Linked DNA regions of Homo sapiens: region 1 is linked to region 2. The links are contacts of gene promoters, found by promoter capture Hi-C in human tissues and cell types (Jung and others, 2019). All regions are on one chromosome and are shown on one strand. Each heading gives the region's core, a stretch centred on a gene start or on the middle of the fragment in contact. The rest is flanking DNA. Distances are from core to core; before and after follow the strand shown. Region 1 has its middle 110 kb from the start of VPREB1. Region 2 holds the start of VPREB1 (V-set pre-B cell surrogate light chain 1).

What was found. Contacts are between HindIII fragments. The study calls those that stand out against the background at their distance.
Region 1: a fragment that was not itself captured here is called in contact with the fragment with the promoter of VPREB1 in region 2 in 2 of the 25 tissues and cell types used here (dorsolateral prefrontal cortex and mesendoderm cells).

Annotation. Positions count from the first base shown.
Region 1 is chr22:22,130,824-22,136,227 of GRCh38, reverse strand. It overlaps IGL. Among named protein-coding and RNA genes, the nearest start is that of VPREB1, 110 kb to the left of the region's middle. The HindIII fragment of the contact is 6,305 bases long and covers 214-5,404 here.
Region 2 is chr22:22,242,023-22,247,678 of GRCh38, reverse strand. It overlaps VPREB1 (V-set pre-B cell surrogate light chain 1), which reads right to left and starts at 2,893. Exons shown (of 2, transcript NM_007128.4): 1 at 2,820-2,893; 2 at 2,164-2,733. The coding sequence starts at 2,865. The coding sequence ends at 2,342. It also overlaps IGL. The HindIII fragment of the contact is 13,267 bases long and covers 1-5,656 here.

The DNA of each region.
Region 1 (5,404 bases), core at 2,117-4,616, 110 kb after region 2:
CAAAACTCTGGTTCCATTATTTGATATAAAAAAATACATCACAAAGCATTTTCGACAGATAGCTTGTTTCTCGTTTTTAGGGTTATTCATATTTTTTATAAAACTCAATAGGTTTGGTGACATCACTTCTTAGATTATACAAAAAGAGTGTCTCACAGTTGTTGAATCAAAACACAGGTACCATTCTCTGACATAAAACAGCATATCACAAATGGTTATCACAGATAGCTTGTTTCTAGTTTTTAGGACTGGATTATGTATATGTTCCCATAAGGCCTCACTGCCTTAGAAACATCACTTCTTAAGAGTCTACAAAAAAAGTGTTTGGAAACTGTTTAATCAGTATACAGGTTCAATTTTGTGATATGAAACAGCAAAAAGTGTTTTCGCTGATAGCTTGTTTCTAGTTTTTATAGCTGGATATTTGTATTTTCTTATAAGGGCTCAATAAGGTCAAAAACGTCACTTCTTAGATTCTACAAAGAGTTCAGAACTTGCTGAAACAAAACACAGGTTCCATTCTGTGACATAAAATAGCACATCACAAAGTGTTTTTACAGATAGCTTGTTTCTAGTTTTTATTACAAGATATTCATACGTTACTGTAAATGCTCAATAGATTCGAAATGTCACTTCTTAGATTCTACAAAAAGAGAGTTGGGAACGTGTTTTTATCAAAATGCAGGTTCAATTCTGTGTTATAAAACTGCACGTCAAAAAGTGTTTTCCAAGATAGCTTGTTTGTAGACTTTAGGACTGGATGTTTGTATGTTCCTATAAGGTCACAATAGGCTCAGAAATGTCACTTCTTAAGATTCTACAATAGTGTTTTGAATCTGTTTCATCAAAACATAAGTTCATTTCTGTGATATAAAGCATCACATCACAAAGTGTGTTGACAGATAGCTTGTTTCCAGCAGTTAGGGCTAAATATTCATGTTTTCTTATTATGGCTCAAAAGGTTTGGATACATCACTTTTTTAGATTCTACAAAAAGAGTGTTTGGAACCTGTCTCACAAAAACACAGGTTTAATTCTGTGTTATGAAACAGCATAGCAAAAAGTATTTTCAGTCAGGCATGGTGGCTCACGTCTGTAATCCCAGCACTTTGGGAGGCTGAGGCAGGCGGATCACGAGGTCAACAGATCAAGACCATCCTGGCCAACATGGTGAAACCACATCTCTACTAAAAATACAAAAATTAGCTGGGCGTGGTGGTGCACGCCTGTAGTCCCAGCTGCTAGGGAGGCTAACGTAGGAGACTTGCTTGAACCCAGGAGGCAGAAGTTGCAGTGAGCCGAGATCACACCACTGCACTCCAGCTTGGCAACACAGCAAGACTCTGTGCCAAAAAAAAAAAAAAAAAGCATTTTCACAGATAGCATGTTAGGACTAAATATTCATATTTTCTTATAAGGGCTCAATAGGTTTGGAAATGTCACTACTTAGATCCTACAAAGAGTGCGTTGAACTTGCTCAATCAAAACAAAGTTTCCAATCTGTGACACTAACAGATCAGAAAGCGTTTCCACGCATTGCTTGTTTCTAGTTTTTAGAGGAAAATATTCGTATTTTCTTTTAAAGGCCTCAGAGGTTTGGGAATGTCACTTCTCAGATTCTACCAAAAGAATGTGTTGAACCTATTGAATTAAAACACAGGTTTCATTCCGTGACATAAAATAGCACATCCCAAAGCATTTTGACAGATAGCTTGTTTCTAGCTTTTAAAACTGTATGTTTGTATAAGGGCTCAATAGGCTCAGAAATGCCACTTCATAAATTCTACAAAAAAAAGTGTTCAGAACCTGTTTAATCAACACACAGGTTCAACTTTATGATACAAAACAGAACATCACAATGCATTTGCACGGATGGCTTGTTTCTAGTTTTTAGGACTGAATATTTCTATTTTTTAATAAGGGCTCAAGAAGTTCCAAAACGTTACTTCTTAGATTCTACAAAATGAGTAATTTCAACTTGTTCAATCAAAACACAAGTTCAATTTTATGATATAAAACAGCACCTCACAAAGCATTCCACAGATAGCTTATAGCTTATTTCTAGTTTTTACAACTGGATATTCATATTTTCTTATGAAAGCTCAATAGGATCAAAATAATCAATTCTTAGATTCCACAAAAAGAGTGTTTTGAACTTGCTGAATCAAAACACAGGTTGCATTCTGTGACATAAAACAGCACATCAAAAAGCATTTTCACAAATAGCTTTTCTATAGTCTTTGTTTGTTTGAGACAGAGTTTCGCTCTTGTTGCCCAGGCTGGAGTGCAATGGCGCGATCTCGGCTCACTGCAACCTCGGCCTCCCAGGTTCAAGCAATTCTCCCACCTCAGCTAGGAACTCCATCAAACAAACCTGCCTCCCATTTTATTTCTAAATAAGATAACTATTATTTGGCTTAGTGGGGTGTCCCGGAGATTTATTTTCCTTTAACAAAGGATATGAAATTATCCTGCTCTGCTCACTATAACTTTTCTGTATTGAAACATCACTATGTCCCTGTGAGTATATACAATTATTTGTCAATAAAGAAAAAAAAAACCCAAATAATAAAATAAAAAAATAACTACAAAGATTTCGAAAGCTATATACCTCCCTCATAATTTGTCAGAAAGGAAATTTCTTGTGGGCCTCAAGATCTTTACACTAAAACAGTTCTGTTGAATTTGACCCTGGCAATATAAATTGGCAATTGATAGATTATCTTTACAGGTGGGGGACAAAGGACAGAACCCAAAGTCATCCCTCTCCTCACCTGAGACAAATGTGTATCTGATTGGCTTTCTCTGCCCAGTTTTTTATGTAAAAATGCAGATTCACTAAGCCAGACTCAGGCATAAGTGACTATTCCTCTATGGCATCTTGCATGTAAATTGTGTATTCAGTGAAAGGATAATCAGAAACTCAAAAGAATGCAACCGTTTGTCTCCTATTTACCTATGAACTGGAAGCACCCACCCCCAACCCTGCTTCAACTTGTCTCACCTTTCTAGAGAGAAGCAATGTACATCTTACACATATTACACTGAAGTGTAATAAAATGTAACAAAGAGAAGTTTTCAGCCTAATGAGCTAAATAATTTTTAAAAAGTGGAAACTGGGTTCAAAGAAATTCAGTAATTATATTAAATGACACCAATAATGTGAGCTCGATTTAAGAGTACCCAGCAACACTTAAATTCTTATGAAAGCAAATGCTCTATTGGTTCCGTTGGCTTTGTTGATTACATATCCACTAAGGTATTAAAAATATTCAGCACCTTAGTGACCAGTGACCCCACTCCTGAGTTTCTAATTTGAACAACTTCTAAATATCCAAATCATATTTTTAAGTAATATAGTACCCGGAAATCAAAGATTAAATCTAAGCTACACTTAAGCTTGATCACTTCTCCTTTATTACAGTTAGAAACATTCTTTGTTTTATAAATTTTTACTTATTTTGAGACAGGGTCTCACTCTGTTATCCAGGCTGGATGGAGTGCAGTGGCACGATCTCGGCTCACTATACCCTTGACCTCCCAGGCTCAAGCGATTCTCCTGCCTCAGTCCCCCAAGTATCTCAGACTGCAAACACATGCCACCACGCCCGGCTTATTTTTATCGTTTTTGTAAACATGGGTTTCGCCATGTTGCCCATGCTGGTCTTGAACTGTTGAGCTCAAGCAATCCACCCGCCTTGTCCTCCCAAAGTGCTGGGATCATAGGTGTGAGCCATTACGCCAAGCCTTTATTTTTGTCTGTCCTATTATGTAGCCCTTTACTGTTTTCCAGAGAGGTGAAGTATTTTGCACATATGCATTATGTCTCCGAAATGTCATTACGCTAGCACAAAAAAACTGAGATGAACTCATAATTTATAGTATTGCCTCAACCCGAATATCTATACAATTTTGAAAACATTCACCCTAGCGACTATTAAAACTAACTTGAATAAGAAACAGTAAACTACTAGTATGTGATATTATCTTTCAAACACTTCTAAAAGTATAAGCAATGTATGAGGAAATGGGGTACAGTTTGGTGTCTCTCCCCAACTCCACATACATACCAGGATCTGGGGGAAAAAAAGCTGTCCTTAGAGAATGATATTATTTAAATCAACATGTAATTGGCAGAGCTAGTGTATGTCCCATGACCTGTGGACCCATCTACTTTACTGTAGATTAGTTAATGCTAATGTTGCCACAAGTGAAGAAGAATGCATCATGGGATGCTCATCAAGAAATATGCAACCCCTGCTGACACAGCTCCCTACATGTCACCTTCTCTATTGCACATGCAACATTGATGTAGGAATTAAAAAGAAATTATTTAGGCAGATACTGAAAGTAAGGAAGTCCTAGTGTAAAGTTTTCCTACTAATGAAAAAAAAAACCCATATCATTTATTTTCTAACAAAGAGCATCTTGTAAAATTGGGCTGCAGACATTGATAAGCTCTCATAGGAATGCCAGCAGCTGTGCCAATAGGAAAAGGCTACCTGTGGGCCAGGCATGTTCAACATGGTGGCTCCATCTTCCCTTTTCTCTGTCAACCACAGGTACAGTAAGGAACAGACAATATGGTCCTGGTAAGGTAAAGAACCCATCTGCATAATAAAAGATTAGGGTGCAATGGCCAGCTTCTCCCTGTGCTATGCAAACGTTCACACCTGGTCCAACCAGTCTCTAGAGCCCTGTGTAAATCAAGACACCACCTCCTCAAGCTCCTTTATAAAACCTTGTGCTTTTCACCACAAAACCGGAAGACCCACTCAGGTGCCCCTCTCTCTTTCTGCAGGAGAGAGAGCTGTTCTCTTTTCTCTTTCTTTCACCTATTAATCATCCACTCTTGAACTCACTTCTTGTGTGTCCACATCCCTGATTTCCCTGGTGTGAGATGACAAACCTCAGGTATTACCCCAGACAAACAATGCTGCCTCAACATTCTTTCAAATCTCAATTCAATTGTGTTGTTTCAGAAAAAGCCATTGTTCAGGGGTCCACAAACTATACCCTGCAGTCAAAATGTGGCCCACCACTTGTTTCTGTAAATAAAGTTTATTGGAACACAGCGCCATTCACTCATTTAAACATTACTGATGCTGCCTTGGTATGACTTCAGAGTTTAGTTGTCAGAGACCACATGCTGAGCAAACCTGAAAATAGTTACTATTTCATCCTTTACAGGAAATGTTTGCTGATCTCTGAATTCCAATGTAATTTTCCTGTATATAAGATAAAAGATTTTGGTTCTAAAACAAAATATTAAGTCCATCTTTAAGCTATCATATATTGAAAAGGACTATACATTTTACAGCAAACATACAGGGAATAAGGCAAGCTAATGTGAGTCTATAACAAGATTGCATTGCATATAATTAAAGAAGAACAACATTTGTTA
Region 2 (5,656 bases), core at 1,644-4,143:
GAGTTCCTCTGGAACCATCTAGCTGGTCTTTAAAACTGTGGGCCATGGCCAGGTGCAGTGACTCACACGTGTAGTTCAGCCACTCAGCAGGCTGAGACAGGAGGATCGCTGGAGCCCAGGAGTTCAAGGCTGTAGAGCATCATGAATTGAACCTGTGAATAGCCACAGCAGTCCAGCCTGGGCAGCATAGCAAGATCCTATCTCTAAAATAAAATAATAAACAAGTAAATAATAATGTTTTAAAATGTGGGCCTGGCCCAGGGGTAAAAGCCTGATGCAGGAAGAACCCAGTGCATAGAGTATGGCATAAGCTGAGATCACTGTCTCTTTTTTTTTTTTTTTTTTTTTTTGTGAGATGGAGTCTCGCTCTGTCACCCAGGCTGGAGTGCAGTGGCATGATCTCGGCTCACTGCAACCTCTGCCTCCTGGGTTCAAGCAATTCTCCTGCCTCAGCCTCCCAAGTAGCTGGGATTACGGGCATGTGCCAACACACCCAGCTAATTTTTGTATTTTTAGTAGAGATGAGATTTCACCATGTTGGGTAGGCTGGTCTCTAACTCCTGACCTCAGGTGATCCACCCGCCTCGGCCTCCCAAAGTGCTGGAGACCACTGTTTAACAAGAGAGGGACTCATGACCACACATGGAACGCTGATACTGACATGTGTCCACCTCTCTGGGGAGATGCCTCAGGATCTTTTTAGCTGGGGTGAATGCACGTTCCCAGGCAAGTTGGGGTTACAAGGGAGATGGTTTGCCCGGCACCTCTCTGAGTGAGGCATGTCTACAGGTTGTGTGAACACCCAATGTAGAGAGTCCCTCTCCGCAAGGCACACTCAGACCCACCACCCACGGGCTCAGGGGGCCTTGCTGTGGGCCGGGGCTGCAGGGAGCTCCCCATTGCTACTTCACCCAGACAGTCCAACACAGTCTCAGTGAGACCACGTCCTTCATGCCTCTAGGTATCTCCATGGGTCCAGAGGCTTCTGCCTGGGGTCACAGGCAAGATAAGTTGAGGGGGGACTCTGATTATCCCACCAAGCATGGCTTGCTTAAAACCTGGAGACAGGAGCTGGAGTGCTCCCGAGCAGGGCTCAGCAAACTACAGCCTGGGCGCCATACCCAGCCCAGTGTAGCCCCATCTGTTTCTGTAAATACAGCTTTATAAGAACACAGCCATGCCTCTTTGTTGACATGTTTGTCTGTGGCTGCTTTCTTGCTACTAGGACAGAATTGAACAGTTGTGACAGAGATCGCATAGCCCACAAAGCCAAAAATATTTACCACCTGGCTCTTTATAGAAAATGGGCTGGGTGCAGTGGCTCACGCCTCTAATCCCAGCACTTTAGGAGGCCCAAGCAGGGGGATCACTCGAGCTCAGGAGTTTGAGATCAGCTTGAGCAACATAGTGAGACATTCATCTCTCCAAAAATAAAACTAAATAAATAGCCAAGCATGGTGATGCACGCCTGTAGTCTCAGCTGCTCAGGAGGCTGAGACAGGACAATCACTTGAGCCTGGGAGTTTGAAGCTGCGGTGAGCTATGATTGCACCACTGCACTCCAGCCTGGACCACAGAGCAAGACTTTATCCCTAAAAAAAGGAAAAAAAGAACATGTTTGCCGACACCTGCCACTCTCTTGTACAAATAAGTAAATGCATTTACTTGCTCATCTAGACCAGTGGTTCACAATCAGTGTGAGTTTACCACCTGGGGACATTTGGCAATGTCTGGAGACATTTTTGTTTGTCACAACTGGGAAGGGGCATCTGGTGGGTAGAGGCCACAGATAACCACTCACCATTCAACAATCCGCAGGACAGCCCCACAACCAAGAACTGTCCAGCCCAAAACGTCGATAGGACCAAGGTGGAGAACCCACTCTAGGCCTATTACCTGGCTCCTGTTCTCCCTGGAGGCCCAGACCAGGTGCTTTCTAAGCTTGTTTGCCCTGTAACCGCTGGGCAGAATCAGATGACACCAGAGGGTCCTGTCCTGGGCATGGATGCCCCTCCAGGGTGCTTCGGTCAACCCCTTGCCTCCCATGGCCCACAAAAGTAAGGACTCAGGTGAGTGCTCACCACAGTGATCTGCCAGTCTCCCGGGGCCCCGGGCCTTTGCCCAAGGCTGGTACTACGAAGTCGCACAACAGTCAGACCAAACTCAGCAAAAAGTGACAAGCAGCTTTAATTCCCTAATGCAGTCTCCAATGGGGATTTACAGCAACACTGCAGGACCAGGAGATGCTGAGTGGCTCAGCCTCCTCGGCGCTTCGGGCGGCGACTCCACCCTCTTCCATGACAGTCTCTCCAAGGGGATGCGTGCCTCTGCTGTCTTCAGTTCAAGGGACACGTGTCCTGGCTGCAGTGGGTTCCATTTCTTCCTCCCACTCCCTCTCCCTCTCCTCCTTCTCCGAGCTGCGGGCCCCCATAGCACAGTAATACATAGCCTCGTCCTCAGGCTGCAGCTCAGAGATGCTCAAATACCCCCTGTTCCTGGCCACATCTTTGGATCCAGAGAAGCGAGGGGGGACCTGGGGGCCCTGGCTCTTGTCTGATTGTGAGAAATATCTCAGCAGGAACCTGGGAGGGTGGCCCGGCCTCTGCTGGTACCAGTAGACGCTGTACACACCGATGTCATGGTCGTTCCTCAGGGTGCAGGTGAGGCGGATTGTGGTTCCAAGGGCCGAGGACATGGCCGGCGGCTGATGCAGCACCGGCTGAGGACCACAACCTGGTGACACAGATGCATGTGGGCCGTGGGGGCAGGGCAGGATGAAGGAAGGGGCAGGAGTCTTTGGGATCTGGGGGTTCCCTCACCTGTGCAGTAGACAAACAGCATGAGCAGGACAGGAGCCCAGGACATGGTGCAGACATGCAGAGCTCTGACTCCTGTGGCCACGGTGCCTGGGGTCCCCAAGGGCTGGCCCAGCATCCTCCTCCCTGCTCTGAGAGGTGGGGCCGTGGCACACCCCGTTCCTGGCCACTACCATCCCAGACTTTCTTGGGTCTGCAACGTCGGTTACCGGAACAGCGTCGGGGCAGCATTTGTGGCTCTGATCTTGCCATATGGAAGCATTCAGGGAGGAAGCACCTGCTGGAGACTCTGGGGCCAGTGCCCTGGAGGCCTTTGGGTTAAGGTACCTCAGGGGTCGTGACCTCAACTTCCCCCTGAGGAAACCGCACCCCAGATAAATAAATTTTCTGTCTACATTTAAATGCTTGGTGAGCCAGGAAGGGAGGACACATCCTCGGGGGGTGAAAACACCTGCTTTGTACAGCAGAAGACACTGGGGGCCCAGAGCGGGTTGGGATGTTCTGCCCCTTCCATGTTGCAGCACTGCCTTCGGCCCATGCTCCTCTCCCTACTAGAACCAAGTAGAGTGACTCAGGCATGGGAAAGAAGCACCAGGGCCTGGTGCCTTCCCCACCCCTGTTCTGGCTCACCGAGCAGGTGCAGCTTGGCACTGTGATAGACTGAATTGCATCCCCCAAATCCATAGGTTGAAGCCCTAACCCCCAGTGTGCCTGTATTTGGAGATAGGGCCTTTAAGGAGTTAATGAAGGTTAGATGAGGTCATAGAGGTGGGGCCCCGGTCAGTACAACTGGTGTCCTTATAAAAAGGGGAAATTTGGGAGCCGGATGCAGTGTCTCACACCTATAATCCCAGCACTTTGGGAGGCCAAGGTGGGAGGATCACTTGAGCTCAGGAGTTCGAGTCTAGCCTGAGCAACATGGCAAAACCCCATCTCTACAAAAAAAATTTAAAAATTAGCTGGTCATGGCGGACAGGCACCTGCAGTCCCAACTACTTGGGAGGCTGAGGTGGGAAAATCACTTGAGCTTGGGAGGTTGAGTTGAGGCTGCAGCAAGCCAAGATCTCACCACTGCCCTCCAGCCTGGCCAACAGAGGGAGACCCTGCCTCAAAAAAAAAATGAGAATAAAAATAATACATTAAATGTATGTTTGCATACTACCTGCAAGATTTAAAAAAAAATTAAGGGGAAATTTGGACTTAAAGTCTCTGATCCCACATGCTCACCCTCCCTCAAAAAGCTGGAGTGTCTCCTCCCCTGGAACCTGTGCAGGCCTGTGATCAAGGCTGAAGTGTCCCTGGGTGCACGAGGTGGCACTGAGCAGCTGGGTGTGCACTGGGACTGTTTACTTGCAAACACTTTGATAGAGCAACCACCCCTGAGGCTCAGATGAGCCCCTGCTCGGTGTCAAGCTGCCCCACATCCATTCTCTGCCTGGTGAGGTGCAGGCTGCACCAGTTTCAGCCCGCAGGGTCGACTCTGGGAGCCCCACCCTTCTTCCCACTGCCTCTCTGGCCAACAGCTCCACTGCCCAGGTGAGGGCTGGGGAGGGCCTCTGCAGACACAGGATGTCTTGACCACTCTGTCCAGTAACAGCTGCAACCACATCTATGACCTGTTGCTCCTCCCTCCTCTGCACAGGCTGGTGGGCAGTGGGGAACTAACCAGTGACTGCTGACTCCTGGAGAGGAGAAAGGAAGCTTTTTTCACTCATTCATTCATTTATTCCCTCATCCAGTAGCTCATTCATGTGTTGTGCACGTATTTGTGAAAGAGAAATATACCTCCCAGACCCCTCCGAGAGCACCAGTCCTTGGGAATCAGGGCAGGAGAAGGTTCCACCTGTGGGCACCAGCACTACTGCAGTCCCTGAACTAGCCCTACCACTGACACTGTCAGAGCTTTTTGATCCTTTTAAGCTCAGAGAGGATAGGTGTTTCTACTTGCTCTTACAATTATACTTAGAGAGCAAATAAGCCCAGCCCTCAACCGTAGAGACACTCTGGTCCCAACTTTCTTTCACAGGCTTCACTGACCCAGGACCTTTGCATCACTCACAGAGCAAGATAGTATCCAGTGGTGACTGTGCGTGCTGGGGAATGACTGGGCCTTCCAGACCCTGCTGGAGATGGTCTCAGACCCCTGGAGCATCTAGAGTTAGATGCAGGTCATGCACTCTGAACTCTGCATTCTCCTGGCCCTGGGCCACTCTTCCCACCTCTGTTCCCTCAGCCTTGTCCTCAACCCACCAACACCTGGACTCAGGGATCATCTGCAGGGCACAGCAGTTTGATGGGATTGAAGAACACCATGTATTCAGTCCTTTCTGGCTGCACTCAACTCTTTTTAGATAATTCTAGACCAAGAGAAGGTTGGTGAGCTCTGTAACAGACCTCAAGGTCTACAAGGGTCTCAGGGGAGACAGGAGCTATTCAGTGCTCCTGCCTGGTTTGTAGATTTTTTTTTTTTTTTAGAGACAAGGTTTCACTCTGTTGTCCAGGCTGGAGTGTAGCGGTGCAGTCACAGCTCACTGCAGCCTCGAACTCCTGGGCTCAAACAATTCTCCTGTCCCAGCCTCCCAAGTAGCTGGGACTACAAGCACATGCTACCACACCCAGCTAATTTTTTTTACTTTTTGTGGAGACAGGGTCTTGCCATTTTGCTCAAGGCTGGTCTCAAATTCCTGCGTTCGAGAGATCCTCCTGCCTCAGCTTCCTAAAATGCTGGGATTACAGGTGTGAGCTACCCACCGCACGCCCGGCTGAATAGATATTTTAAACTGTTTCAGCGATCCACTGCTACGTGGCAAACCACCCGTAATGTAGTCATTTAAAACAAG